Regions from separate parts of the Homo sapiens genome. Here regions 1, 3, 4, 5, 6 and 7 are each linked to region 2. The links are contacts of gene promoters, found by promoter capture Hi-C in blood cells and fetal thymus (Javierre and others, 2016). All regions are on one chromosome and are shown on one strand. Each heading gives the region's core, a stretch centred on a gene start or on the middle of the fragment in contact. The rest is flanking DNA. Distances are from core to core; before and after follow the strand shown. Region 1 overlaps CATSPERB (catsper channel auxiliary subunit beta). Region 2 holds the start of FBLN5 (fibulin 5). Region 3 overlaps LOC101928957 (a long non-coding RNA gene). Region 4 overlaps CATSPERB (catsper channel auxiliary subunit beta). Region 5 overlaps LOC101928957 (a long non-coding RNA gene). Region 6 overlaps PPP4R3A (protein phosphatase 4 regulatory subunit 3A). Region 7 overlaps CATSPERB (catsper channel auxiliary subunit beta).

Evidence for each region. The method cuts DNA at HindIII sites, captures the fragments that hold promoters and counts their contacts. A CHiCAGO score of 5 or more calls a contact.
Region 1: a contact is called between a fragment that was not itself captured here and the fragment with the promoter of FBLN5 in region 2, in 3 of 17 cell types (M2 macrophages, M0 macrophages and M1 macrophages). The highest score is 7.5, in M2 macrophages.
Region 3: a fragment that was not itself captured here is called in contact with the fragment with the promoter of FBLN5 in region 2 in 2 of 17 cell types (M1 macrophages and megakaryocytes); the score reaches 5.7 in M1 macrophages.
Region 4: a contact is called between a fragment that was not itself captured here and the fragment with the promoter of FBLN5 in region 2, in 5 of 17 cell types (M1 macrophages, M2 macrophages, megakaryocytes and 2 more). The highest score is 9.6, in M1 macrophages.
Region 5: a fragment that was not itself captured here is called in contact with the fragment with the promoter of FBLN5 in region 2 in 3 of 17 cell types (M2 macrophages, megakaryocytes and M1 macrophages); the score reaches 7.6 in M2 macrophages.
Region 6: a contact is called between a fragment that was not itself captured here and the fragment with the promoter of FBLN5 in region 2, in 4 of 17 cell types (megakaryocytes, endothelial precursors, M1 macrophages and 1 more). The highest score is 5.8, in megakaryocytes.
Region 7: a fragment that was not itself captured here is called in contact with the fragment with the promoter of FBLN5 in region 2 in 8 of 17 cell types (M2 macrophages, M1 macrophages, M0 macrophages and 5 more); the score reaches 13.6 in M2 macrophages.

What each region holds. Positions count from the first base shown.
Region 1 is chr14:91,670,727-91,674,453 of GRCh38, reverse strand. CATSPERB (catsper channel auxiliary subunit beta) reads left to right here. Exons shown (of 27, transcript NM_024764.4): 12 at 232-278; 13 at 1,438-1,587. Among named protein-coding and RNA genes, the nearest start is that of CATSPERB, 59 kb to the left of the region's middle. The HindIII fragment of the contact is 5,418 bases long and covers 1-3,727 here.
Region 2 is chr14:91,945,633-91,949,172 of GRCh38, reverse strand. FBLN5 (fibulin 5) reads left to right here and starts at 1,479. Exons shown (of 11, transcript NM_006329.4): 1 at 1,479-1,960. The coding sequence starts at 1,944. The HindIII fragment of the contact is 8,571 bases long and covers 1-3,540 here.
Region 3 is chr14:91,526,902-91,530,330 of GRCh38, reverse strand. The region is part of intron 2 of LOC101928957 (a long non-coding RNA gene); the gene reads left to right. Among named protein-coding and RNA genes, the nearest start is that of PPP4R3A, 18 kb to the right of the region's middle. The HindIII fragment of the contact is 6,884 bases long and covers 1-3,429 here.
Region 4 is chr14:91,625,472-91,628,916 of GRCh38, reverse strand. The region is part of intron 17 of CATSPERB (catsper channel auxiliary subunit beta); the gene reads left to right. Among named protein-coding and RNA genes, the nearest start is that of CATSPERB, 100 kb to the left of the region's middle. The HindIII fragment of the contact is 3,656 bases long and covers 1-3,445 here.
Region 5 is chr14:91,570,941-91,574,589 of GRCh38, reverse strand. LOC101928957 (a long non-coding RNA gene) reads left to right here. Exons shown (of 4, transcript XR_007064306.1): 2 at 1-187. Among named protein-coding and RNA genes, the nearest start is that of PPP4R3A, 62 kb to the right of the region's middle. The HindIII fragment of the contact is 1,978 bases long and covers 1,129-3,106 here.
Region 6 is chr14:91,493,890-91,497,293 of GRCh38, reverse strand. The region is part of intron 1 of PPP4R3A (protein phosphatase 4 regulatory subunit 3A); the gene reads left to right. Among named protein-coding and RNA genes, the nearest start is that of PPP4R3A, 15 kb to the left of the region's middle. RefSeq lists enhancers at 1,595-1,804, 2,286-2,435. The HindIII fragment of the contact is 1,641 bases long and covers 679-2,319 here.
Region 7 is chr14:91,651,823-91,655,614 of GRCh38, reverse strand. All of the region lies in intron 15 of CATSPERB (catsper channel auxiliary subunit beta), which reads left to right. Among named protein-coding and RNA genes, the nearest start is that of CATSPERB, 78 kb to the left of the region's middle. The HindIII fragment of the contact is 2,277 bases long and covers 421-2,697 here.

The DNA.
Region 1 (3,727 bases), core at 838-3,337, 280 kb after region 2:
AATTTAAATCTGAGACAATAGGTACACTTGAAATAGGGATAAGAAAATTAGATTTGAGTATACATTACTTGATGATACATAACTTTTATTATTATTATTATTTTCATTTACCATAAGTTTACTTGCAAAAATAATTTCTATGATTTTCATGAAGACTATTAAGACTAACCCTTCCAGTTTTAGAAATACAGATATGCTCATAATTCCTGTACCCTTGTATTTATTTCACAGTTGATTATGTTACAGTTACCTTTGAGAGAAACAGAACCCTAAGTGAGGTATGATATTGAATATTTTATAAGTTAAGAAATTTTGTTGTGGGATTGGGGACTTCATGGATTGGGATTAATCTAAAAAATGGCAATTCTACAGACTGAAAGGCTTCACAATCACTCTTTGCTCCCAGTGGTGTTTCTACTTGGGTTTATTAGTACTTACCTAATTATGTTAATCAGGACCTAAGCAATGGTTCTAGAAAAACAATTCGTACCAGAAAGACATGCATTGCAATGTTTTCTGGGCTCATATCCCTCAGAAGAGAGGCACAGACATTAAGGATTTTTTTTTTTTTTGAGACAGAGTCTCGCTCTGTCTCCAGGCTGGAGCGCAGTGGCATGATCTTGGCTCACTGCAACCTCTGCCTCCCAGGTTCAAGCAATTCTCCTGCCTCAGCATACCAAGTAGCTGGGACTACAGGCACGCTCCACCATGTCCAGCTAATTTTTGTATTTTTAGTAGAGACAGGGTTTCACCATGTTGGCCAGGATGGTCTTGATCTCTTGACCTCGTGACCCACCCCCCTTGGCCTCCCAAAGTGCTGGGGTTACAGGCGTGAGCACCAAACCCAGCCACATTAAGGATTTTTTAAAAAACAATTGTGATCAGTCAGAGCAACACTATGGTTGTTAATTTATTTTCCTACTGTTACTAAAACACCAGGGATTCAGTCTAGGTCCTGCTGCTTGCTGTATAGACTGCCAGTCACTGAGTCAACAAGTATTGCCAGGGAGAAGGCTTTAATCAGGTGCTGCAGCCAAGGAGAATGGTAGATAAAAATCTCAAACCTGTCTCTCTGAGTAAAATTGGGGGATTTACACAGAAAGGAAGGTAGGAAAACAGGAATTAGAGATGGGTGAAGAAGCAATCATGATGGATGAGGAGTCTGACTTCTCATTATCTGGGTGCAGTGATCCGTTGAGTTTCAGTTCCTTGCCTAAGGGTCGATTTCCTAAAGAAGGAATTCAGATGAGAAAAACGTTTTAAGACCAGGGAGTTTAAAGACCAGTGGGTTTTAAGACCAGGGAGGGAAGGTTAATTTCTATGTTTGTTCAAAAAACTGTAAATATTACTTCTATGAACAAGTGGGCTAGTTTCACTAAGAGAATTAGAACTTATATTTCAAAAACAGCATTAATTTTTCCCTTCTTTTTTTTATAGTCAAGCTCTTGTTTTTATAGTCAGGAACCATTTCTTGAATGGGTACCCTGCTTACCTCACATTTTTAAAGGAATAAAAATTTTTCCAACTGTGCTAACATTTCTTGTTGACCAAGAGCGTGGTACTGGAGTTTACCTCTTCTATAACAAGGTAGGCCTTATATCCCAGAGGGAATTTATCTTGACATGACAACAATAAAAATTTACCTTAGCAAAAGTTATTTTCAAGTTCTTGTTATGTCTGGCAATAGAACCTATAAAATTGGCTATAGCAAAATTATTTAAAATCAATAATATAGCTTGACACTTTAGAGATTTCTCACCTGGTCGTCATTCATTTTGATGAAAATGGAAAACGTGATGCTGTATGCATAGTGATTCTCCCTTGCTAATTCTCTAAAGAATATAAGCTGGGATTTTTCTATACAAATTTAAGATTCCATAAAATGGTTAATTAAACAGAAAAAAAAATGGAAGTAATTGCCACAGATCTATATTTTTTTCTTCCAAACGTCCTTAACCCTACCTGTGAATTAGAATTCTTCTTAGAGCCATTAAAAAACACATAAACTGACAGTTGTGATGGCTCATGCCTGTAATCCCAGCAACTCGGGAGGCTGAGGCAGGAGGCTTGAGGCCAGGATTTCAAAACCACAGTGAGGCACTACTGCACTCCAGCACACCAGGTGAGGTGACAGAGCAAAATCCAGTCTGAGAAAACAAACAAGCAAGCAAACAAAAAAACAAACAAACAAATAAAACCATAAGTTCGGCCCCTATCGTCAAGATTGTAGGGAAGGAAAAAGCTCTTTCCTCCATCTTCGTATGTTCAATGAGTGGAGCCTTGCAAATTAAACTGAAAAAAAAATATTAATAGGAGAAAACAGTTTATTTACATGTGCAGTGTGCACACATGGGAAACTCAGTGATGAGGTTAAAATTTGGAAGTTAGGTACCATCTTTTTGTTGTTGTTGTTGTTGTTGTTGTTGTTGTTTTTGAGACAGAGTCTCCCTCTGTTGCCCAGGCTGGAGTGCAGTGGTGCAATCTCGGCTCACTGCAAGCTCCGCCTCCCGGGTTCACGCCATTCTCCTGCCTCAGCCTCTCCGAGTAGCTGGGACTACAGGCGCCCGCCACCATGCCTGGCTAATTTTTTGTATTTTTAGTAGAGGCAGGGTTTCACCGTGGTCTCGATCTCCTGACCTCGTGATCTGCCCGCCTCGGCCTCCCAAAGTGCTGGGATTACAAGCGTGAGCCACCGAGCCTGGACGGTTAGGTACCATCTTAATAGGTGAAGGGGAAAGGGAGAAAACCATTTATGGAAAAACAAATTGCTTTTAAAAAAAAAGAAAAAAAGATAAATGGGTTTTCAGGACAGCAAACAGGAGATACGATTTTTTTTTGTTGGTTGGTTTTTTGGGGTTTTTTTGAGATGGGGTCTCGCTCTGCTGCCCAGGCTGGAGTGCAATGGTGCAATCTTGGCTCACTGCAACCTCGGCGCACTGCAACCTCTGCCTCCCAGGCTCAAGCGATTCTCCTGCCATAGCCTCCCAAGTAGCTGGGATTACAGGTGCCCACCACCACACCTGGTCAATTTTTGTATTTTTTAGTAGAGATGGGGTTTTGTCATGTTGGCCAGGCTGGTCTTGAACTCCTGACCTCAAGTGATCCACCCACGTTGGCGTCCCAAAGTGCTGGAATTGCAGGCATGAGCCACAGCGCCTGGCCAGGAGATATGAAAGTTTTTGATAATGTTTGTAAATCTAGGTATGAGTGGTCTTTCCTTCTCCTTCAGGGGTATAAAACTCCTCTGGAGAAGGGATTTGGGACAGGTTTTATTTACATTCTTCCTTCTAGGAGTAGATCTGCCCCAAGGAGGAATTTCTGTCAGCCTCATTTCCCAGCAGTTCCTGCTTTTAGTCAGACACAAAAGGCTCCAAAGTTTTTTCTCTGCATCTGTTGAATCTCAACAGTCTTCAGCTTAAAATTATCCTTATATAAAAGTGGCATTTTTTTGTTTTGAGACAGGGTCCCTGTCACCCAGGCTGGAGTGCAGTGGAGCGATCTTGGCTCACTGCAACCTCTGCCTCCCGGTTTCAAGAGATTCTCCCACCTCAGCCTCCCAAGTAACAGAAATTACAGGTGTGTGCCACCACGCCAGCTAATTTTTGTATTTTTAGTAGAGACAGGGTTTTGCCATGTTGTCCAGGCTGGCCTCGAACTCCTGGCCTCAAGTGATCCACCCAGTTCGGCCCCCCAAAGTGCTGGGATTATAGGCGTAAGCCACTGCGCC
Region 2 (3,540 bases), core at 230-2,729:
CAATATTCTACTGTTTTGACCCACAAAATATATTGGAAACCCTTCAATAGCAGTGCATACGGAGCTGTTTCAGTCTTTTTTTCAAAATAAGATATAACATACATAAGACTTCACAAATATTAAATGTACACACCCCTACATAACCAGCATCCAGATCAATCATTAGATTATTACCAGCACCCAGAAGGGGCTGGGCTGCCTCCCAGTCACTATCTGACTTTGAATTTTATATAAATGGAGTCGTTTGATGTGGACTCTTAAGTGTCTAGGTTTTAATTGGTTGCACAATAGTCCCTTTGGAAGCCCCTTACTTTATTTAACCCTATTGGTGCCTTGCTGATCGACCTTAAAGGTGTTTATAATCTTTTGCTTTTACAAACAATGGGGGGATGAACAACCTTATAAACATAAGGTATTTAAAAAAGTGTTTTACAGGAAATTTCAAACACGTAAAAGGAAATAGATTAGACTAGTATAATGGACACAGCTTCAACAACTATCCACATTCTGTTATTCTCCTTTGGGTAGAATTCCATTTACTTACCCCCAAAAATGCCTTAGGGAAGGCTAAATATGTAGACTCCAGAGGCTCAGCTGTACCAATGAATAGCTGCGTGACTATGGGGAGGTTACCTAACCTCTCTTATCTTCACCTCTAATAACATGGAGATGATCATTCCTACTGCTTAGAGTGGTGGTGAGGACAGGGGACCTGGATCAGGGCTTTTCGGCTGCAGGTAGGAAGATGCAGGTGGAAGCAGATGGGATAGGCCACAGTCCATCCACTGGCGTTTTATAGAGTGAGTGCCTTCTGTAAGATTTCATTGACAAAAGTACTCCAATGGCTTAAAAACAAACAAACAAACAAACAAACAAACAGGAAAAAGAAACAGGTTGAAGCCTCCACTAGAATGAATGCAAAGGACTCAGCATGTCTTATGTGCTGTCTCCACCATTCTGCTTTTCCAGACTGTCCCTTCTTCAAATCACCGTTTAACTTGTTAAAATCACTTTCGAGCCAGGGGACACTTTTCCAGGAAAGCGAGAAAATGCCAGGGAGAATCGGGGAATGAGGGCGGGGAGAGAAAAGCGTCCTAAGACTTGCATTGCACAAGCTGAAGTCTGGAATTCGCACCAGCGGGATTCCATCCTCTTCCCCCCCACCCCACCCCGCTGCTCCCCACCCCTTCTTCGGGAAGATCGCGACTCTCCCGTCGCTCGCCCCAAGCCTCTGCTTCGTAGGTTCTGGTTTCCCAATCGATCGTGAGTTTCTAGTCCCTGGAGCTGCGTGGGTCGTGAGTTCAAGTCCCTTTCCTTCCGGAGGCGACAACGTTCTCGCGGGTCCCCTTGCCACGCAGCGCGGGCGTGCACGCCCCTCCCCGCCGGGCCGCGCTGCCAGCCCCGCCCCGCCCCTGGGTGGGAAGGTCAAGGGGCCCGGGCCCTCCCAGCCCCCGCACCCCTGCGCGCGCCCGCCCCTCGCCTTCTGCCCGGGCGCTCGCAGCCGAGCGCGGCCGGGGAAGGGCTCTCCTCCCAGCGCCGAGCACTGGGCCCTGGCAGACGCCCCAAGATTGTTGTGAGGAGTCTAGCCAGTTGGTGAGCGCTGTAATCTGAACCAGCTGTGTCCAGACTGAGGCCCCATTTGCATTGTTTAACATACTTAGAAAATGAAGTGTTCATTTTTAACATTCCTCCTCCAATTGGTTTAATGCTGAATTACTGAAGAGGGCTAAGCAAAACCAGGTGCTTGCGCTGAGGGCTCTGCAGTGGCTGGGAGGACCCCGGCGCTCTCCCCGTGTCCTCTCCACGACTCGCTCGGCCCCTCTGGAATAAAACACCCGCGAGCCCCGAGGGCCCAGAGGAGGCCGACGTGCCCGAGCTCCTCCGGGGGTCCCGCCCGCGAGCTTTCTTCTCGCCTTCGCATCTCCTCCTCGCGCGTCTTGGACATGCCAGGAATAAAAAGGTGGGTTCTCGGCGCTGGACTTTTCTTTCTCCAGGGTCTGGAAGCCTTGCTAAAAATCCGATGGGTGGAAAATGGTTATGGCTGCGATTCAGGCGGTGTCAGGATATTGGAAAAGGCATGAGCTAGTGATGCAATGATATTGTTAATTATAAAAAGCTGCGCCTCTGTAATTTCCATCTTGAAGCGTTCTTTTGGGAGTGGGTATTTTCTAATACAGTTTCAAAAGCCAGCATCAGAGAGGGCTGCGAAATTCTCAGCGCTTCATTCCTCTTTCTTTTCTGGAAAGGGCAGCAACTTTGTCGTTTTAAGGGATTTTTGTATGTATTTTTTAAATTTCGGGAGGCCAATTACTAGTTCACTAGCAATTACTGCGCCGCATCGGCTGATAGACAAGCAGACAGGCTAGCTGAACACCGCGGGGCTGGATTTGCTCTATGTTTGTGTGGGATTCTCACAGAAGTTTCAAGCCAATGAGAAGTGGGAACTGCAGACAGAGATACATGTAAGCAAATGTTTTGCTATTCTTTAAGGAAATTGCAATTACAGTTAAGTAATCCTTAAGTCTTGGAGAACTTTACCTAAATGACACCCACAGTCTTTATTCAGCGAGCTCTTGAAAACATACTGCTTTGAACAAATTAACCTTGTGTGCGTATGTATGTGTCTGTGGGGTGTGTGTGTGTGTGTGTGTGTGCTGAAAACTAAGCTGTAACAATGTCATCCTGGATTGGGGACCAGCACTTCTGTGACAGGCAGTCCTGGTATTTGGTTGGTCTCTCCGGCTTTCCTTGTGTTTCAGGCTGAGGCACAACACCGGCGAACCCACCTGCTTTAGAAAGTTCCCAGGACCGGTTATGAGCACCAACCTGCCTCCCCCCAGCTATTCTTATAGTTAGTTCATTTTTGGAGTTTCCAGGGTTTTTTTTTTTTAATCACAAGGTGCAGCTATTCGTGATGCTGTGAGGCAGTAGTGCTTGGGTATTCTTTCATTTTAGGAAAATCCTATTAGCCTGGAACCTGTTTGGCCCCCAGGACTCAGCTGTGGCTCTTCCAAGAGGCTGGGCTTGAGGCAAGACCTGTCCCAGGGCTGCCTCTAGCCAAAGGGAATGGGGCTGCGGGGAGTAGGGGGAAAGATGGGGTTAGCATGCCTTTTCAACTAGCTCTTGAAGTCCACTGTGTTGCAGTCAGCCTGTTCTTTCTCCAACATAAACGAGACAGGGTTTTATAACCAACTGAAAGGAAACTTCATGTGAAGAAACAGGAAAACATTGAAATTCATAATACACAGACTGGAAAATAAATTTGTTATTGTTCTTTCATTCCTTCCAGATATAAATCTGGCCATGGCAAATATCAAAAAGCCCTGGGATTTGGCTCTGCACTTTATAAGGTCAGAGCTGTCTCCAGCGTTCTAGAATCTGGCTCACCCAGGCACTTACATGAAAACTTGTGGACTCTCAGCGTCCTTATTTTTTGGATTGGGGACTCGATAAAGGAAATGGCCTCGCATCTCCTAAGATCGTATCAGGGCCCTATTCCCTCTGGATGTCAGCTTAACTCCAGGTCCTCTAATACCCAGG
Region 3 (3,429 bases), core at 211-2,710, 420 kb after region 2:
TGAGAGTTGACATTTATGTTCTCGGTGTCTTTAAAAAAAATTTTTTTTTGTACAGATGATTTCTACGTTACCTAGTCTGGTCTCAAACTCCTGGGCTCAAGTGATCGTCCCACCTTGGCCTCCCAAAGTGTTGGGATTATAGGCATGAGCCACCACATCCAGCCCCTCAGTGTCTTTTGATTTGGATGTTTGCTGAAACTCTTCTATAAAATGAGAAAAATAACATTTCTAACATAGCTTTGACTTTGTTCTTTCTTAGATTTTTTCTTAAGAATTCTGAGTTGTGTCTAATATCAAAATTTGCAATACAAATAGAGATTTCTCTTTTAAAATAAAGGCCAGGCGTGATGGCTCACACCTGTAATCCCAGCACTTTGGGAAGCCGAGGCAGGCGGATTCCCTGAGGTCAGGAGTTCGAGACCAGACTGCCTGGCCAACATGGTGAAACCCTGTCTCTACTAAAAATACAAAAATTAGCCAGGTGTGATTACGTGCACCTGTAATCCCAGCTACTTGGGAGGCTGAGGCAGAAGAATCGCTTGAACCCGAGAGGCAGAGGTTGCAGTGAGCCGAGAGCACACCACTGCACTCCAGCCTGGGCAACAGAGTGAGACTCTGTCTCAAAAAATAATAATAAAATAAAATTCATATCTGCCTAAGTTTTGAGAAGGCTGTCAGGAGTAAAAGCTCGTGTGCATCTTCCCTGCTCTCATCTGAGTAGAACAGATCCCTTTTAGGTCATGTTAAATCTGCATTTTCTTTTATGTGTGCACCCTACAGACCCCCCAGTCCTGAAATGTACCCAGATTAATATCTTTGATGTCCAGATCACAAAGGGCTTCTTATTTTCAGGGTGTTCTTTGTGATAGATCATCTTTTCAGACTATCTATCTTTTGGCAAAAAGGAAATAACTTATAAGTATTTTCTGAATGTACAAACACATTCATGCATTCATTACTCTCAATTTCTTTTTCCACCTTTTGAAAACCAATACAGGTAGAATAGGAAGCCAAGGATGATGGTGTTAATATGTAAATATTAAAAATTTTTATTTAGCTATTTTAAAATCAAATCAAATGGTCCAGGTGCGGTGGCTCATGCCTGTAATCCCAGCACTTTGGGAGGCCGAGGTGGGCGGATCGCAAGGTCAGGAGATTGAGACCATCCTGGCTAACATGGTGAAATGCCGTCTCTACTAAAAAATACAAAAAATTATCCCGGTGTGGTGGCGGGCACCTCTAGTCCCAGCTACTCAGGAGGCTGAGGCAGGAGAATGGTGTGAACCCGGGAGGCGGAGCTTGCAGTGAGCCGAGATCGCACCACTGCACTCCAGCCTGGGTGACAGAGCGAGCGAGACTCCACTCCGTCTCAAAAAAAAAAAAAAAAAATCAAATCAAATGTATGATTGTGACTTAATTTTTGTCATTTCAAATAATCTTTCTAACTCTGTGTTTGAGAAGAATATGCTTATCCTTAAATGATGCAAACATTCTATACCTTACCCCCAGCCACAGTGGTTAGGGTAATACTTAGAGAAAAGCCAGGCCACTCAAATACACTGCCTGGATTTTTCAGATTGTCACGGGGTGAGAAATGCTTTTAACTCCTGAACATCAAATTTAGAAGGATGAGGTATAGGGCTGCATATAACCATGACCCCCGACTGCCACTCACAATGTGGGCAAATATGTCTGCATCAGAGAGAAGAAAGCAGAACATTGTGTGGGGATCCCAGTTATCCTCCAAACCAGACGAGTGTCTTTCTGGGGTCTGTTAGGAAGTGAGATAAGGGGCTGCGCATGGTGGCTCACACCTGTAATCCCAACACTTTGGGAGGCTGAGGTGGGAGGATTGCTTGAATCCAGGAGTTCAAGACCAGCCTGGCCAACAGGGTGAAACCCTGTCTCTACACACACACACACACACACACACACACACACACACACACACAAATTAGCCGGGTGTAGTGGTGCATGCCTGTGGTACCCGTTGCTCAGAAGGCTGAGCTGAGAGGCTGAGGCAAGAGGGTCACTTTAGCCCAGGAGTTCAAGACTCCTGAGCTATGATCATGCCACTGCACTCCAGCCTGGGCAACAGAGCAAGACCACGTGTCTACATTTAAAAAAAAATTAATAAGGAATTGAGATGAACTGATTCTTTTAATCTACACCCTACCTCAACCTCTCTGAAATTTATTTTGTATTATTGGCTGTAAATGCAATCTCTTTCCTTATAACTCTATGGGTTAACATCATCTAAGGTGATTTTTAAACTTGTTATCAAGTTCTTTCACATTTGTCCCATCAGAAGTGAAGTCTCTATTCCCTCCTGTTAAATCTGGGCTGGCTTTGGTGACTTGTTTGTACCCAATAAAATAAAGCATAAATGATGCTGTGTGACATTGGAGGCTAGGTCAGAAAAGACCATGCAACTTCTGCCTGGTTCTCTTGGAATGCTTTCTGTAGGGAAAGCAGCCACCATGTAGAAGTCTAACTCCCCTCTCAAAAAGGCCATGCATACCTGTTCTGGCAGACAGGCCTGGCTGAGCTCCCAGCCAACAGCCAGTATTCCCTGCAAGCCATGTCAGTGTTTCATCGTAGACATTCACAGCCCAGTTGAGCGTTCGGATGACAGCAGCACAGCTGACATCTGACTGCAACTACATGAGAGGCCTCAAATGAGAACTGCCCAGCAAAACCCTTCCCCAATACCTGACTCACAAAATTGGGAGCAAAATAAAATGCCTACTTTAAACCACGAAGTTTAGAGAGACTTTGTTACAGAGTAATAGTAACTAGAATGTATCTTTGCTTGGGCAATTGATTCCAATCTCAAAGTAATGGCAGTAGTGGTACATTTTCCATGGATGGAATGGATGAGATCTAAATGCTATGTGTTTTCTTAAAAACTTCTGCTGATATGCTCCTTACGTATTATAAAACTCTTTTCTTAACAGCTACAATGACTATATGAAATGTATTTATTTTTTATTTTTTGAGACATGGTCTTTGTCTGTCACCCAGGCCAGAGTGCAGTGACATGATCATAGCTCACTGCAGCCTCAAATTCCTGGGCTCAAGCAATCCACCTGACTTAGTCTCCTGAGTAGCTGGGACTACAGGCTTGTGCTATTATGCTCAACTAATTTTTTTATTTTTATTTTTATTTTTTGTAGAGATGGGGTCTCCTTCTGTTGTCCAGGCTCACCTCAAACTCGAGACCTCAAGTGATTCTCCCACCTCACCCTCACAAAGTGCTGGGATTACAGGCATGAGCCACCACACCTGGTCTGAAATGGATTTTTGAGCACAGTCTAGATCTTAAATGTCTGACTCTGGTTCCAAGATTTGATTTGTCAAGTATAGATCGGATCTTACCACACAGTCTTACAGGGACTGCACATGTATTTTGTTGTACGAAAAATCAGT
Region 4 (3,445 bases), core at 418-2,917, 320 kb after region 2:
AACAATGAACGAGAGTTCCTATTATTCACATACTCACCAGTATTTGGGTTGTCAGTGTTTTGGATTTCTGCCATTCTAATAGTCATGTGGTGGTATCTCATTGTTAATTTGCATTTCCCTGATGACATATGCAGTAGTCTGTTTTCACACTGCTATAAAGAAATACCTGAAACTGGGTAATTTATAAAGGAAAGAGGTTTAATTGACTCACAGTTCTGCATGGCTGGGGAGGCCATGGTGGAAGATGAAGGGGAAGCAAGGCACGTCTTACATGGCGGCAGGAGAAAGAGACAGTGCAGGGGAAACTGCCATTTTTAAAACCATCAGATCTCATGAGAACTCCCTCACTGTTATGAGAACAGCATGGGGAAAACCGCCCCCATGATCCAACCACCTCCCACCAGGTCCCTCCCTTGACACGTGGGGATTACAATTCAAGATGAGATTTGGGTGGGGACATTGAGCCAAACCATATCAGTATATGATGTAGAACATTTTTTGCTATAGTTACCTGCCATCTGCATATATTCTTTGGTGAGGTATCTGTTAAGGTCTTTGGCCCATTTTTTAAATCAGGTTGTACACTTTCTTATTGTTATATTATTAGAGATTTTTGTATTGTAGGAGATCAGATTATGCCAACCCAGAACCATGCAGTGGTGTGTGCCTGTAGGTGCAGCTACTACAGAGTCTGAGGCAGGAGGATCTCAAGTTCAAGCCTAGTCTGGGCAAAATAGTGAGACCTCCAATTTCCAAACAAAACAAAACAAAAAAACAAAGAATATGCCACTTTGGCATAAAGATTATTTGAGCTGAAGGAAATTAAGGAAAAACAAGCACAAGAAAAACTCTTTGCCCCCTCCCACCAGAAAGGGCAGAATGATTCTTAATCACTGAAGATAACTCTAGACTATATAAATATATATTTTTTTCTTTTTAGAGACAGATTCTCACTCTGTTACCCAGGCTGGAGTGCAGTGGTGCAATCATAGCTCACTGCAGCCTCGAACTCCTGGGCTCAAGCAATCCTCCTGCCTCAGCCTCCCATGTAGCTGGGACTACAGGCATGTGCCACCACACCCAGCTAGTTTATTTTATTTTTAAATGTTTTTAGAGGCAAGATCTCACTATGTTGCATCCAAGCTGGTCTCCAACTCCTGGCCTCAAGCAACCCTCCTGCCTCAGGCTTTCCTCCAGAGTAGCTGGGATTACAGGCACAAGCAACTCTAGACTATTAATAAACCCAGAGACACAAAGAATTTACAGAAGAAACCTTCTCAAAACAACCCTTATCTTCCATTAGTTCCCTCCATTTATTTACCTTCCACAGTTTGCTGACCCTAAAAACCTAAGCCCATTTTTCTTTGTCTTGTCACTTCTCTAAAAATTTGTTATGAAGCCCCATGTTCTAACTACCCTTTTTAGCTACTCATCACTGCTGTTTTTCCTGCATGTAAGCACAATGCACATGTTAATAAATTCCACCTGTTTTTCTCTTGTTAATCTGTATTTGTCAGTATAATTGTCAGGGTCTCAGTTACAGAACCAAGGAGAATAGAGGAAAAAGAGGTTTCTTCTCCCTTCCCCTACAGTTTATTTTGGATAACAGTCCTTTATATGTCTTTTGAAAATATTTTCTCCTAGTATGTGGCTTGTCTTCTAATTCTCTTGACAGGATATTTCAGAGTGTAAGTTTGTAATTTTAGTAAGGTACCAATTACTAATGAGAGATACATGCAAACCATAGCATGTATTTTTAACACAAATTCAGTGTTCACTGCTTAACACTGTCATTTAAAAATCTTTACTAATTGGTTAAAAATTGTATCCCATTGTTGTAATTGCAATTTCTTCTATTACAAATGAGGTCGACCAAATGTTAATCAAATGTTTGTTAGCTATTTTTGGTATATTTTGTTTATAAACTATTTGTTCATAAATTGGTTCATGTAATCCACTGTTTTATCCAAATTACTTAATGGTTTTACTTGTGTTTAGGAAAACTGGAGAGAAATTTATCAATTTTCTCTTTCATGGATTGTGTCTTTGGTGTTGTATTCAACAGTCATTGCATGAAGATGGTAAATTTTGTTAGGTGTATCTTCTTAGTCTGTTTCATGCTGCTATAATAGAATATCACAGACTGGGTAATGTATAAAGAAAAGAAATTTATTTCTTACAGTTCTGGAGGGTGGGAAATCCAAGACTGGGGGGCCCACATCTGGTGAGGGCCTCATGCTCCGTCATCCCATGGTGGAAGGCAGAAGGGTGAGCACATGTGAGCACGCATATGAAGCACTCATGTGCAAAAGAGAGAGAGAAAGACAGGGGGAGGGAAGGGACTGAATTCATTCTTTTATCAGGAACCCACTCACACAATAATTAACCCACTCCTGCAATAATGGCATTCATCCATTCGTGAGGGCAAAGCCTCATGATCTAATCACCCCTTAAAAGTCCCACCTCTCAGGTTGCAGTGAGCTGAGATGGCGCCACTGCACTCCAGGCTGGCGGCAGAGCAAGACTCTGTCTCAAAAAAAAAAAAAAAAAAAAAAAAGTCCCACCTCTCAACACTCTTGCATTGGAAATTGTGTTTTCAACACATGAACTTTGAGGAATACATTAAAACCATAGCATATATTTTAACATAATTTTTTTAATTGAGGGAAAAAAGTAATTGCCATACCCAAGGTCATCTAGATTTTCTCCTATGTTATCTTCTTAGGAGTTTTATAGTTTTACATTTTATATTTAAGTCTGTGGCCCATTTAGAGTTCTTTATTTTCTTTTTTGAGACAGGGTCTGGCTCTGTCACCCACGCTGGAGTGCAGTGGCACTATCTCAGCTCACTGCAACCTCCACCTCACAGGCTCAAGTGATCCCACTGCCTCAGCCTCCTGAGTAGCTGGGATTACAGGCATGTGCCACCATACCTGGTTAATTTTTGTATTTTTAGTAAAGATAGGGTTTCACCATGTTGCCTAGGCTGGTCTTGAACTCCTAGGCTCAACCAATCTGCCTGCCTCAGCTCCCAAAGTGCTGGGATTACCGGTGTGAGCCACTGCACCCGGCCTAGAGTTAATTTTTGTGATGATTGTAAGATCTGTGTCTAGATTGAATTTTTTGCATGTGGATATGCAAGGCTAACATTTTAGAAACAGATTGTTTTCCTGGTTATAAAGTTAATACATGCTCAGTATAGAAATTTCCTAAAAGGCAGAAAAATATTAAGATAATTGAAATTATGACTGTTAACACTTTGATGAACTGCCAATTAGTCCTTTTTATATGCATTTTAACATTTTTCCACTTGCTTTCTTCATTTGGACATTATAATATGATCATTTTCCCTACACTGTTAAAAACTCTTTCTAAACACCCTTTTAATCATTGCATTTTCTCTAAGTAAATCATGTAATATCATTCACTTAGTTTTTTTATTGAC
Region 5 (3,649 bases), core at 868-3,367, 380 kb after region 2:
CCATGGCTGGGAGACAGAGCCATGCAATCCAGACCCAGCTCTTCTGCTCACTGGGGCCGTTCCCGGAGAAGGAGAAACCACGCTGGAGCGGGCACTCCCACGAGTTGTCGGGGAACAAGAACTCGGATCCTGGCGGGAGAGAGCGAACAGTACACCCGAGCGGCGGCTGTCACCCGCTTTGAAACACGTAAGTGCCCGGCCAACCAGCATCCCAGAAACGCCTGGGGAGCGGGGCGCGCGGACGAGGAGAGACCGCGCTGGGAGGGCGCGGAAGGGCGAGGGCGCTGCCGCCTCCACGCTGAGCTCACTGCGCGGGGCGGCCCCCGAGGCAGGGCGCGGGGCGGAGGCGCCCGAGTGGTCCGTCTCGGGAGGCGCAGACGCGGTTCCTCTCGAGGGCGCTCCCGCTGTGAGGAGCAAATCCTAGGGACCTTTGCGTCATGAGCACCCAACGGGGCCCGCCCCCTTAGGACCTGCACCTGCCTGAGGGGAAAACCCGCCCACCACCCACGGTCGCCCGCAGCGCTTGCCTGCCAGCCTTCTCATCTGCAAGCCGCCTCCTCCCTGCCAACCTCCTCCTCCCTGCCCAGCCTCTTTCTCTCTGCCAGCCTCCTCCTCCCCCATCGGCCGCCTCCTCTCCTGCCAGCCTCCTCCTCCCTGCCAACCTCCTCCTCTCCTGCCAGCCTCCTCCTCCCTGCCAACCTCCTCCTCTCCTGCCAGCCTCCTCCTCCCTGCAAGTCTCCTCCTTCCTGCCAGCCTCTTTCTCCCTGCCAACCTCCTCCTCTCCTGCCAGCCTCCTGCTCCCTGCAAGCCTCCTCCTTCCTGCCAGCCTCTTTCTCCCTACCAACCTCCTCCTCTCCTGTCAGCTTCCTCCTCCCTGCCAACCTTCTGTCCTGCCACCCCCCTCTTCCCTGCCAGTCTCCCCCTCTTCTGCCAGCCTCCTCCTCCCCTGCCAGCCTCTTCCTTCTCACCAGCCCCCTCCTCCCTTTTCATCTAAGATCATTTGACCTGTCATTCAAGGCCTAGTTGAAATGTCACCTCTGTAGAAAAGTTTCTCCCCAGTTCTCTCTGATAGTTAGTTCTTTCTCTCCTTTGAGTGGGGTAGCATGGTGCACATTTCTATATCAAGCTTCTTGGCCCGGTTTTGGTATTTACATGCTTATCTCTCCCCTGCAATAGGGACAGTGCTAACTTTCTGTCACATTTCTTTTTAATGCCTTCCTAAAAGAGTGACCAACACATGGGTGATATTCAACAAATGATTGAAAAAGAAAAAACAAGAAAAAGAAAAATGCTGTTTATAATCAGGTTCAGGGGAGACTATGAGAATATAAATAAGACATAAGAACATCTTGTTATAAGAGAAGTTCATATAAAATACATTTCAGGCACAGACTAGACACTCAATAAATATTGCCTGAAAATGAATACAAAGAAAGAACTCAAAATAAGAGGCTTTGGGGAATCATTATATATATATAATTATAAGGGAATTGGTTTTTTTGGTCTCTAACTTTCTAACTTTCTAAGAGTAATAACTGGAAAATTTAGAAAATAAAAGTATGAAAAAAATATAAATCATACCACTTAAAATTTAGGCATACTTCTTAATCTTTTATGGTGTGTGTGTGTGTGTGTGTGTGTGTGTGTGTCCATACACATTAAACATACGTAATATAGATACATTAACTGGGTCTAAATGGAAAGGAAAGTAACATGAAGAGCTTGCTGCCATATGACATTCGTAATTTATTATATGTTGGTCTTTTTTTTTCTTTTTAAAAGTCTTTCCCTCTTTCCTTTGCATTTGAATATAGGTTGTTTGTTTTGTTTTGTTTTGTTTTTTGAGACGGAGTCTCACTCTGTGGCCCAGGTTGGAGTGGAATGACACGATCTCGGCTCACTGCAACCTCCACCTCCCAGGTTCAAGGGATTCTCCCACCTCAGCCTCCCAAATAGCTGGGATTACAGGCACCCACCATCACGCCAAGCTAATTTTTGTATTTTTGTAGAGACAGGGTTTCACCATGTTGGTTAGGCTGGTCTTGAACTCCTGACCTCAGGTGATCTGCCCACCTTGGCCTCCCAAAGTGCTGGGATTACAGGTACGAGTCACCATGTCTGGCCATATGTGGGTGTTTTCTAATTTAAAAAAAAAAAAAAAAAGGCTGGGCATGGTGGCTCATGCCTGTAATCCCAGCACTTTGGGAGGCCGAGGTGGGCGGATCACGAGGTCAGGAGATCGAGACCATCCTGGCTAACATGGTCAAACCCTGTCTCTGCTAAAAATACAAAAAATTAGCCAGGCGTGGTGGCGGGTGCCTGTAGTCCCAGCTACTCAGGAGGCTGAAGCAGGAAAATGGCATGAGCCTGGGAGGCGGAGCTTGCAGTGAGCCAAGATCGCGCCACTGCACTCCAGCCTGGGTGACACAGTGAGACTCGGTCTCAGAAAAAAAAAAAATTAAAAAAAAAGCAAAAATCAAAAGAAAACCCTCCTGGTTTTGTTCAATGTGAATTTTCTTAAAGATGCTTGCAATTACTGAACATGTTAGCTGGCAATAATGGCCTTTATGTTGATTTGTTTAGTTAAAATAATCTTTGCCCAGAGTCCCTACCTGTTAAAGGTTTACACCATTAGCAAGTTCAGGTTTTCTCTTCATTTGCTTGTTTTCATAGTGGTCACCAAAAACAAAAAGATATTTCATCTGAACTGCTTTGTTAAGAATATGGGTTTAAAAAGATATTTTTCTTGTCCTAGAAAAAATGAGAAAGCAATGATTTCTTTCCTTTGAGAATAACTCATGTTTTTGCCAGATACTGATAGTTTTTTTTTCCCTTTACCCTTGTAATTAAAATTATTTTTAGTGGGTGTCACTTAGAATCCAGGGAGCACTTTGTGTATCTTTAGATTTTTTTTTTGAAACTCAGACAAGTTTCCTTTGATGATGTATTTGAATAATATTATCTATGCATTGATTGTGTTGATGTCTTCTTTAACAGCCTCTATAAATTTCCTAGGTTGGTTCTCTATTCTCTGCCCTCCACACCTAAAGATATTCATTATTATGCATGATCATATGTAGATTAAAGAACAGAAAATTAATAAGCTTTATTATAAATACTTTAGTATCATTCATACTCACATGCTTTTCCTATGTTGTAAATTTACAGCAAAAATAAAGAAGGCCAAATTCATGCTTATCCTTTTAATTCAAGCATTTATCTTTAAAGGTAAAGAAGATACCACAAACATTTAATGAGCCCTTCCTATACTATGTGCTTATCACTTAACTATTCTAAATAATTTTGCAGTTAGGCTTGTAGCAAAGAAACTGATAATAATTTTAAATGATATTATGAGTATCACAATGGAGAAAAATAATCAGATAACTTATCTGACCATGGCTTAGGTTCTTCTCTTGGAAAAATATTTTTGGGTCAGACTGTGGTTGGTCCTTCTCTCTTTAATGCTCTTTCCCCTCTTTGGTCCTCAATTTAGAACTATTTATAGAAGCATCTATTATGATAGATTCTGTCTCTGCATAAGTGATTGTAATTAGCTATATCTCATGAAAGTTTCCTAGGATTGAATAAAATAGAGCCAGAGTTAGCAGCGGCTCAAGTCTGTAATCCCAGTACTTTGCGAGGCCCA
Region 6 (3,404 bases), core at 250-2,749, 450 kb after region 2:
GGATAGATGTGTTTCTCAAATGAGTTGGGGTGAATGGGGTCTGTCTTGAGTGTGTGCTTCAGTTATTGAGTTCCACTAGACATAACTGTTATCAGAAACATGTTGCTCTTAGTTAGAACCTTCTCTGCCTCCCTCTTAATGTTGCTGAGGTCTCCTGCTAAGGATCATCATTTCTCGCCTGTCATCTCTGCTACCATGTTATTTAATAAATTCCTCTCCTAAAGTTGAGCTCTATATCCCCATCCATACCCATACCTTAGTAGGATAGAATTACTGTGCCTAATACTGTAGCTATAGCAACAAAATACAAACAAACTTGTTGGGGGTAAGGATTGTGTTAATTGATATTAACACTGAACTGGATCTGTTATAGTTGATTGGTTTAGTGTTTATAACTTGGCTCAATAAAACCTATTAGGTGATGGAGGGAAACCCAATAGACTAGGAATAAACCTAGTATTGTGTCTTTTATTTATTGTCTTACTGAGCCCTCAAGTTGAAAGACTTTCCGGTGTTCTAGCCTCTATAGCCTACTTATCTCTTTGGGAATATGGTATTGGGGATGAGAGCTGGACTTCCTAGACCAAAACTGTGATATGGCTGAAAAGAGAGTTTCAGGGGATACTTCCCTCTAATATCCTGAATAGACCAGAAAAACATTTCCCAACACTAGAAGCTTCTAGTGTGTCCTGTTTTAGCCAGAACTTTGGAAGGGAGTACGTCAAACCTTTTTTTCCCTCTTTCTTATTATCCTGATCCTGTAAACACTACTAAGAGAGTTTTGAAGAAAATGTAAAAGAGACTGGTACTTGAGAAATAATTGCTATTAGGGATTAGGTGGCTGACAATGTCATACCACTGCACTGCCGTGTTTTTTGTTTTAGTGACTGTAAAAATCAGGCGTGTGTTTCTTGAAAGCACAACTTGAATAACAACCTCAATCCCCTGTGCTATGTGTTTCTGACTTCTTAAACTTAAAAAAACTTTTGAATTGCAGTATAATACATCAAAAAGGTACACAAATCATAAGTATTCAATTTGATGAATTTTCAAAAAATAACCAGCACACCATTGAAAAAACAACATAACCACTACTCTGGAAGCCTACTTCAGGTTCCTCCCCAGTCACTATCCTACCCAGAGAAAACTGCTAGCCTAATGATAGGTTAATTTTGCCACTTTGTGAGCTTTGTGTAAATTGAATTCTATGGTTTATACCTTTGTCTCAGCTGTCTTTTACTCAGGTTTGTAAAATATCTGTTGTGTTTACTCTTTGATTCATATATTAACATTGTTCGTGGTATCCATTGTATGAATATTTATACTTTACAGTTTACCTTTTTGTGTGTGTGTGTGTGTTTTGTTTTGTTTTTTTGAGACTGGGTCTTGCTCTGTTGCCTAGGCTGGAGTGCAGTGGCATGATCTTGGCTCACTGCAACCTGCATTTCCAAGGCTTAGGCAATCCTCCCACCTCTGCCTCCTGAGCAGCTAGGACTACAGGCGTGCGCTGCCACACTTGGCTAATTTTTAAAATTTTTTTATAGAGACAAGGTCTCACTATATTGCCTAGGCTGCACTCCACCTGTTTTTTGTTTTTTTTTTAACAGTATTTACATACTATATAATTCACCAATTCAAAATGTACAATTCATTGTTTTTTAGTATAATCACAGGTTTGCAACCATCACCACAATCTAATTTTAGAACATTTTGTCTCCTCTGAAAAAAATCATGTGCCCATTAGCAATCACTACCCACTTTCACTTCCTCCCAGCCCTAAACAACCACTAATCTATTTTCTGTCTCTAAATTTACCTATCTGGACTGGGAATGTGCCTGTAGTCCCAGCTACTCAGGTGGCTGAGGCAGGAGAATTGCTTGAACCCAGGAGGCAGAGGCTGCAGTGAGCTCAGATCACGCCACTGCACTCCAGCCTGGGCGACAGAGAGACTGTCTAAAAAAAAACATACACACACACACACACACACACATTATGTATCTGGACATGTGGTATTTTATGATGGGCTTCTTTAATTTCATATGTTTTCAAGGTTTATACATATTGTAATGTGTTAGGTTTTCATTACTCTGTGTAGCTGAGTATATGCCACATTGAATTTATCTGTTCATTTTTTGCTGTTGTAAATAACCTTGCTGTGAATATAAATGTACAAGTTTTTGTCTGGGCATGTATTCATTTCTCTTGGATATATACCGAGAAGGGAAATTGCAAGGTAACTGCTTAACTTTTGAAGGAACTGCCAAACTTTTCCAAAATTGATGCCTCATTTTATATTCCCAGAAGCAATGTATGAAGCTTCCCATTTCTCTACAGCCTTGTCACCGCTTGTTATTGTCTTGTCTTTGATTGTAGACATTCTAGTGGGTACTAAATGGTATCTCATTTGTGGTTTTGGTTTTTGTTTTCATTTGAGACAGAGTCTCTGTCGTCCAGGCTGGGGTGCAGTGGTGCAATCCTGGCTCACTGCAACCTCCACCTCCCAGGTTAAAGTGATTCTCCTGCCTCAGCCTCCTGAGTAGCTGGGTTTAAAGACATGCACAACGATGCCCAGCTAATTTTTTGTGTGTCTTTAGTAGAGATGGGGTTTCACCATTTTGGCCAGGCTGGTCTCGAACTCCTGACCTCAAGTGATCCACCTGCCTCAGCCTCCCAAAGTGCTGGTATTATAGGCGTGAGCCACCGTGCCTGGCCCTTATTTGTGGGTTTGATTTGCATTTCCTTAATGACTAATGCTGAGCATCTTCTCATATGCTTACTAGTTTTTTGTATATCCGTTTTGGATAAATTTCTATTCAAATTCATTGCCCACATTTTAATATTGAGTTGTAAGAGTCCTTTATATATTCCGGATACAAGTCCTTTACCAGATATATGCTTTCCAAATCTTTTCTCTCATTCTGTGGGCTTTCTTTTTACTTGATGGTATTGTTTGCAGCACAAACAAATTTTTAATTGTGATGCCCAATTTTTTCTTTTATATAGGTTGTACTTTTGTGCAGTTTTAACTTTTAGAGAAGCGTTTCCTAGTTGGGTCCTATGCCATTAGAGATCTTGCATCTTCTGAAATATAATTTGTTAAAGTAATGCAATTCTTTCACTCTATTTTACTTTTGTAATTTTATGGAGATAGATTGTGTCTGAGAATATGAGTTGTATTTCAAAGTAGGTTTTTGTGTGTCTTTAGTAGAGACGGGGTTTCACCATGTTGGCCAGGCTGGTCTCGAACTGCTGACCTCAAGTGACCCACCTGCCTGCCGAGGCGGGCAGATTATCTGAGGTTGGGAATTCAAGACCAGCCTGACCAACATGGAGAAACCCTGTCTCTACTAAAAATACAAAATTAGCCAGGCATGGTGGCACATGCCCAGCTACTCAGGAGGCT
Region 7 (3,792 bases), core at 310-2,809, 290 kb after region 2:
CTTCAAGCTCACTAATTCTTTATTCTGCTTTATCAATTCTGCTATTAAGAGACTCTGATAATTCTTCAGTATGTCAATTGCATTTTTCAGCTCCAGAATTCTGCTTGATTCTTTTTAATTGTTTCAATCTCTTTGCTAAATTTATCTGACAGGATTCTGGATTCCTTCTCTATATTATCTTGAATTTCCTTGAGTTTTCTCACAACAGCTATTCTGAATTCTCTGTCTGAAAGGTCACATATCTCTGTCTCTCCAAGATCGGTCTCTGGTGCCTTATTTTGTTCCTTTGGTGAGGTCATGTTCTCCTGGATGGTCTTGATGCTTCTGGACATTGATTGGTGTCTGGGGATTAAAGAGTTTGGTATTTATTTTAGTTTTCACAGTCTGGGCTTGTTCGTACCTGTCTTTCTTGGGAAAGCTTTCCAAGTATTCAAAGGGACTTGAGTGTTGTGATCTAAGTCTTTGCTCACTGCAGCTGAATCTGCATTAGGAGGTACCTCAAGCCCAGTAATGCTTTGGCTATTGCCAACTTGTAGAAGTACTGCCTTGGTGGTCTTATGTAAGATCCAGGAGAACTTGTATTACCTGTATTACCAGGTATTACAGGAAGAGACTGTATTACCAGGTATTACAGGAAGAGACTGTATTACCAGGAAGAGACTTTTGTTCTCTTACCTTACTTTCCACCAAACAAATAGTGTCTCTTTCTCTGTGCTAAGCTGCCTGGAGCTAGGGGAGGGGTGATGCAAGCACCCTTGTAGCCACCACCACTAGGACTGCACTGGGTCAAACCCAGAGCCAGCACAGCACCAGGTCTTGCCCAAGGCCCACAGTTTCCACTGCCTGGCTACTACCTATGTTCACTCTAGGCCCAAGAGCTCTATAATCAGCAGGTGATGAGTCCAGCCAGGGTTATGATCTTCCCTTCAGGGCAGTGAGTTGCCCCCAGCCCCAGCTAGGTCCAGAGATGCCATCTGGAAGCCAAGGAAGTTGAGACCCTTAGAGTCTATGTGGTATTCTATTCTATTGCGGCTAAGCTGGCACCCAAGCTGCAAGACAAAGTCTTTCTTACTCTTCCCTCCTTTATCCTGAAGCAGAGCAGTCTCTCTCCATGGCCACCACCACCCCAAGCCCATGGCAATTACCCCCTGGCTACCGCCACTATTCACTCAAGGTCCAAGGGCTCTTCAGTCAGCTTCTGGTGAATGCTGCCAGTCCTGGATTTCTCCTTTCAGGGCAGTGGCCCCACTCTGGCCCAGGGCAGGTTTAGAAATGCCACACAAGAGCCAAGTCCTGGAATCAGAGACCCCAGGAGCCCACTTCGTGAATTGTCCACTGTGGCCAAGCTGGTACCCAAGCTGATTTCTGGTTCTTATAAAGGTGCTTTCTTGTGTGGATCATTGTTCAATTTGATGTTCCTGCAGGGGTGGATAATCACTGGAGGCTCTATTCAGCCATCTTGCTCTGCCTCCTCTCTATAATCCCTCTTTTTCTAATCTTCCCTACTCCCCTCCTCTACTCACCCACCTCCTTCTTTATCCCTTTTCCTTCCTTCTTCTTCTGTTCTTCCCACTCTTCCTGTTTCCATCAAGTTCATCATTAAAGGTGCAGCACTGGTCAGATCTTCTATTTGCTCTAACATAGTGTAGGTGAATTATTCTTGAGACCCATCTGCTTCACCTCATTTAGATAGGACTTGGACCCATTTTCTCAACTCAGTAAAGTGCCTTGGAAAGTGGTAAACCTGGCTTCACTTATGAGGGCTTGATTTTTCCCTTTACTTTTCCTTTTGATATCTTCTCATCCACTGTCACCTTCTTATATGGTTTGGCTGTGTCCCAACCCAAATCTCAACTTGAGTTGTATCTCCCAGAATTCCCACATGTGGGAGGGACCCAGGGGGAGGTAATCAAATCATGGGGGCTGGTTTTTCCTGTGCTATTCTCATGATAGTGAATAAGTCTCACAAGATCTTATGGGTTTATAAGGGGTTTCCGCTTTTGCTTCCTCCTCATTTCTCTCTTGCTGCAACCATGTAAGAAGTGCCTTCCACCCTCTGCCATGATTGTGAGATCTTCCCCAGCCATGTGGAACTGTAAGTCTAATTAAATGTCTTTCTTTTGTAAATTGCCCAGTCTCGGGCATGTCTTGATCAGCAGCATGAAAAGGGACCAATACACCTTCTTACTTGTTAGAAGGGTATAACCGAGAGCCTTCAGGATTTTGTTGATTTACCTTCCTTCTCTCAATATTGCCTCAACAATGAACTATTATAGATTATTGGGTAACTTTTGAGATTGAGGTAGACTTGGAGATATCTTATTAGGTCTAACAGAAATTAGAAAAACACTGTCACCAAGACAAGACAGAGGCTGTGTTTTTTTGTTTGTTGTTTTTAACACACAGCATTTTTTATTGTATAGTTTAAAATTTCTTCTGATCTCCAGTTTCTTCTGATCTTCAGTCTCTGATACGATTTTAAATGACGAAGTTTCTGATATAACTTCAAAAAGCATGGTTTTGCAGGCCTCAATATTTTGTCCTTGATGTTCACCAGCAAAAGCAGTTTTACAGTTATACAATCTCCTCTATTGGTCCTTCCTTGTTTGAGAATAAGGACAGACCACAAAATCCTGATGCTATTTCTCCAGATCTTCACCACTCAGTTTATTTATTCTCTATTCTGTCAATAAAGCTTTTGTTTAACTTATGTCAGTATCAAGATTAATCCATGTGGTTTGTATGTCTGAATCATGTGTTGAGACAGCAGCTGTGTCAACCTAAGATTCTGGTGATCAGACTTTATATGATTGTGAAATAAATGAAAGTAATTGTGAATATTGTTAGGAGCACAATGTTGAACGTTTCCAGTATTCCAGAAAGCTCCCTCTTGCCTCTTGCTGCATTTCTTTTTTTTTTTTTTTTTTTTTTTTTTTTTTTTTTTGAGACAGAGTCTTGCTCTGTTGCTCAGACTGGGGTGCAGTGGTATGATCTCAGCTCACTGCAACCTCCGCCTCCCGGGTTCAAGCGATTCTCCTGCCTCAGCCTCCCGAGTAGCTGGGATTACAGATACCCGCCACCATGCCCAGCTAATTTTTTTTTTTTTTTTTGTATTGTTAGTAGAGACAGGGTTTCACCTTGTTGGCCAGGCTGGTCTCAAACTCCTGACCTCAAATGATCTGCCCATGTAGGCCTCCCAAAATGTTGGGATTACAGGCATGAGCCACTGTGCCCAGCCTAATGGTATTTCACTGAAGATTTAGTTTGCATGAGTAATAATGTTAAGTATATTTTCATGTGTTCATTTTTATATCCTTTTTTGTAAATTCTTTTCAAGTCTTTTTTGAATGAAGTTTTGATTTGAGTTACTTTTCTTACTGATTTCTATAAGATTTTAATGTATTACGGATATGATTTTTTGTTAGAAATATGTCTTGGAAATATCTTCTTGTAATTAGTGGCTTGTCTTATTTATCTTCTTCATGGTATCTTTTGAACAAAAATTATTAATTTTTGAAAGCTCAATTGACCAATCTTTCCTTTTATGGTTAGCACTTTTTACTTCTTGTATTCTATTTAAGAATTCTTTGCCTATCCCAAAGCTATGAAGATATTCTCCTGTTTTCTGGAAATTGGTTGTTTTAGATTTTATATACAGATCAAAGTAAAATCTCTAATTTTGTATATGTCATGAAGTGAGGTTCATTTTTTTCCCTGTATGACTACCAGAGCCTCTACTCTGGCCTTGAATTGAATATTCATCCCAAGCTTTTCTTTCTGCTTTTGTAAGCT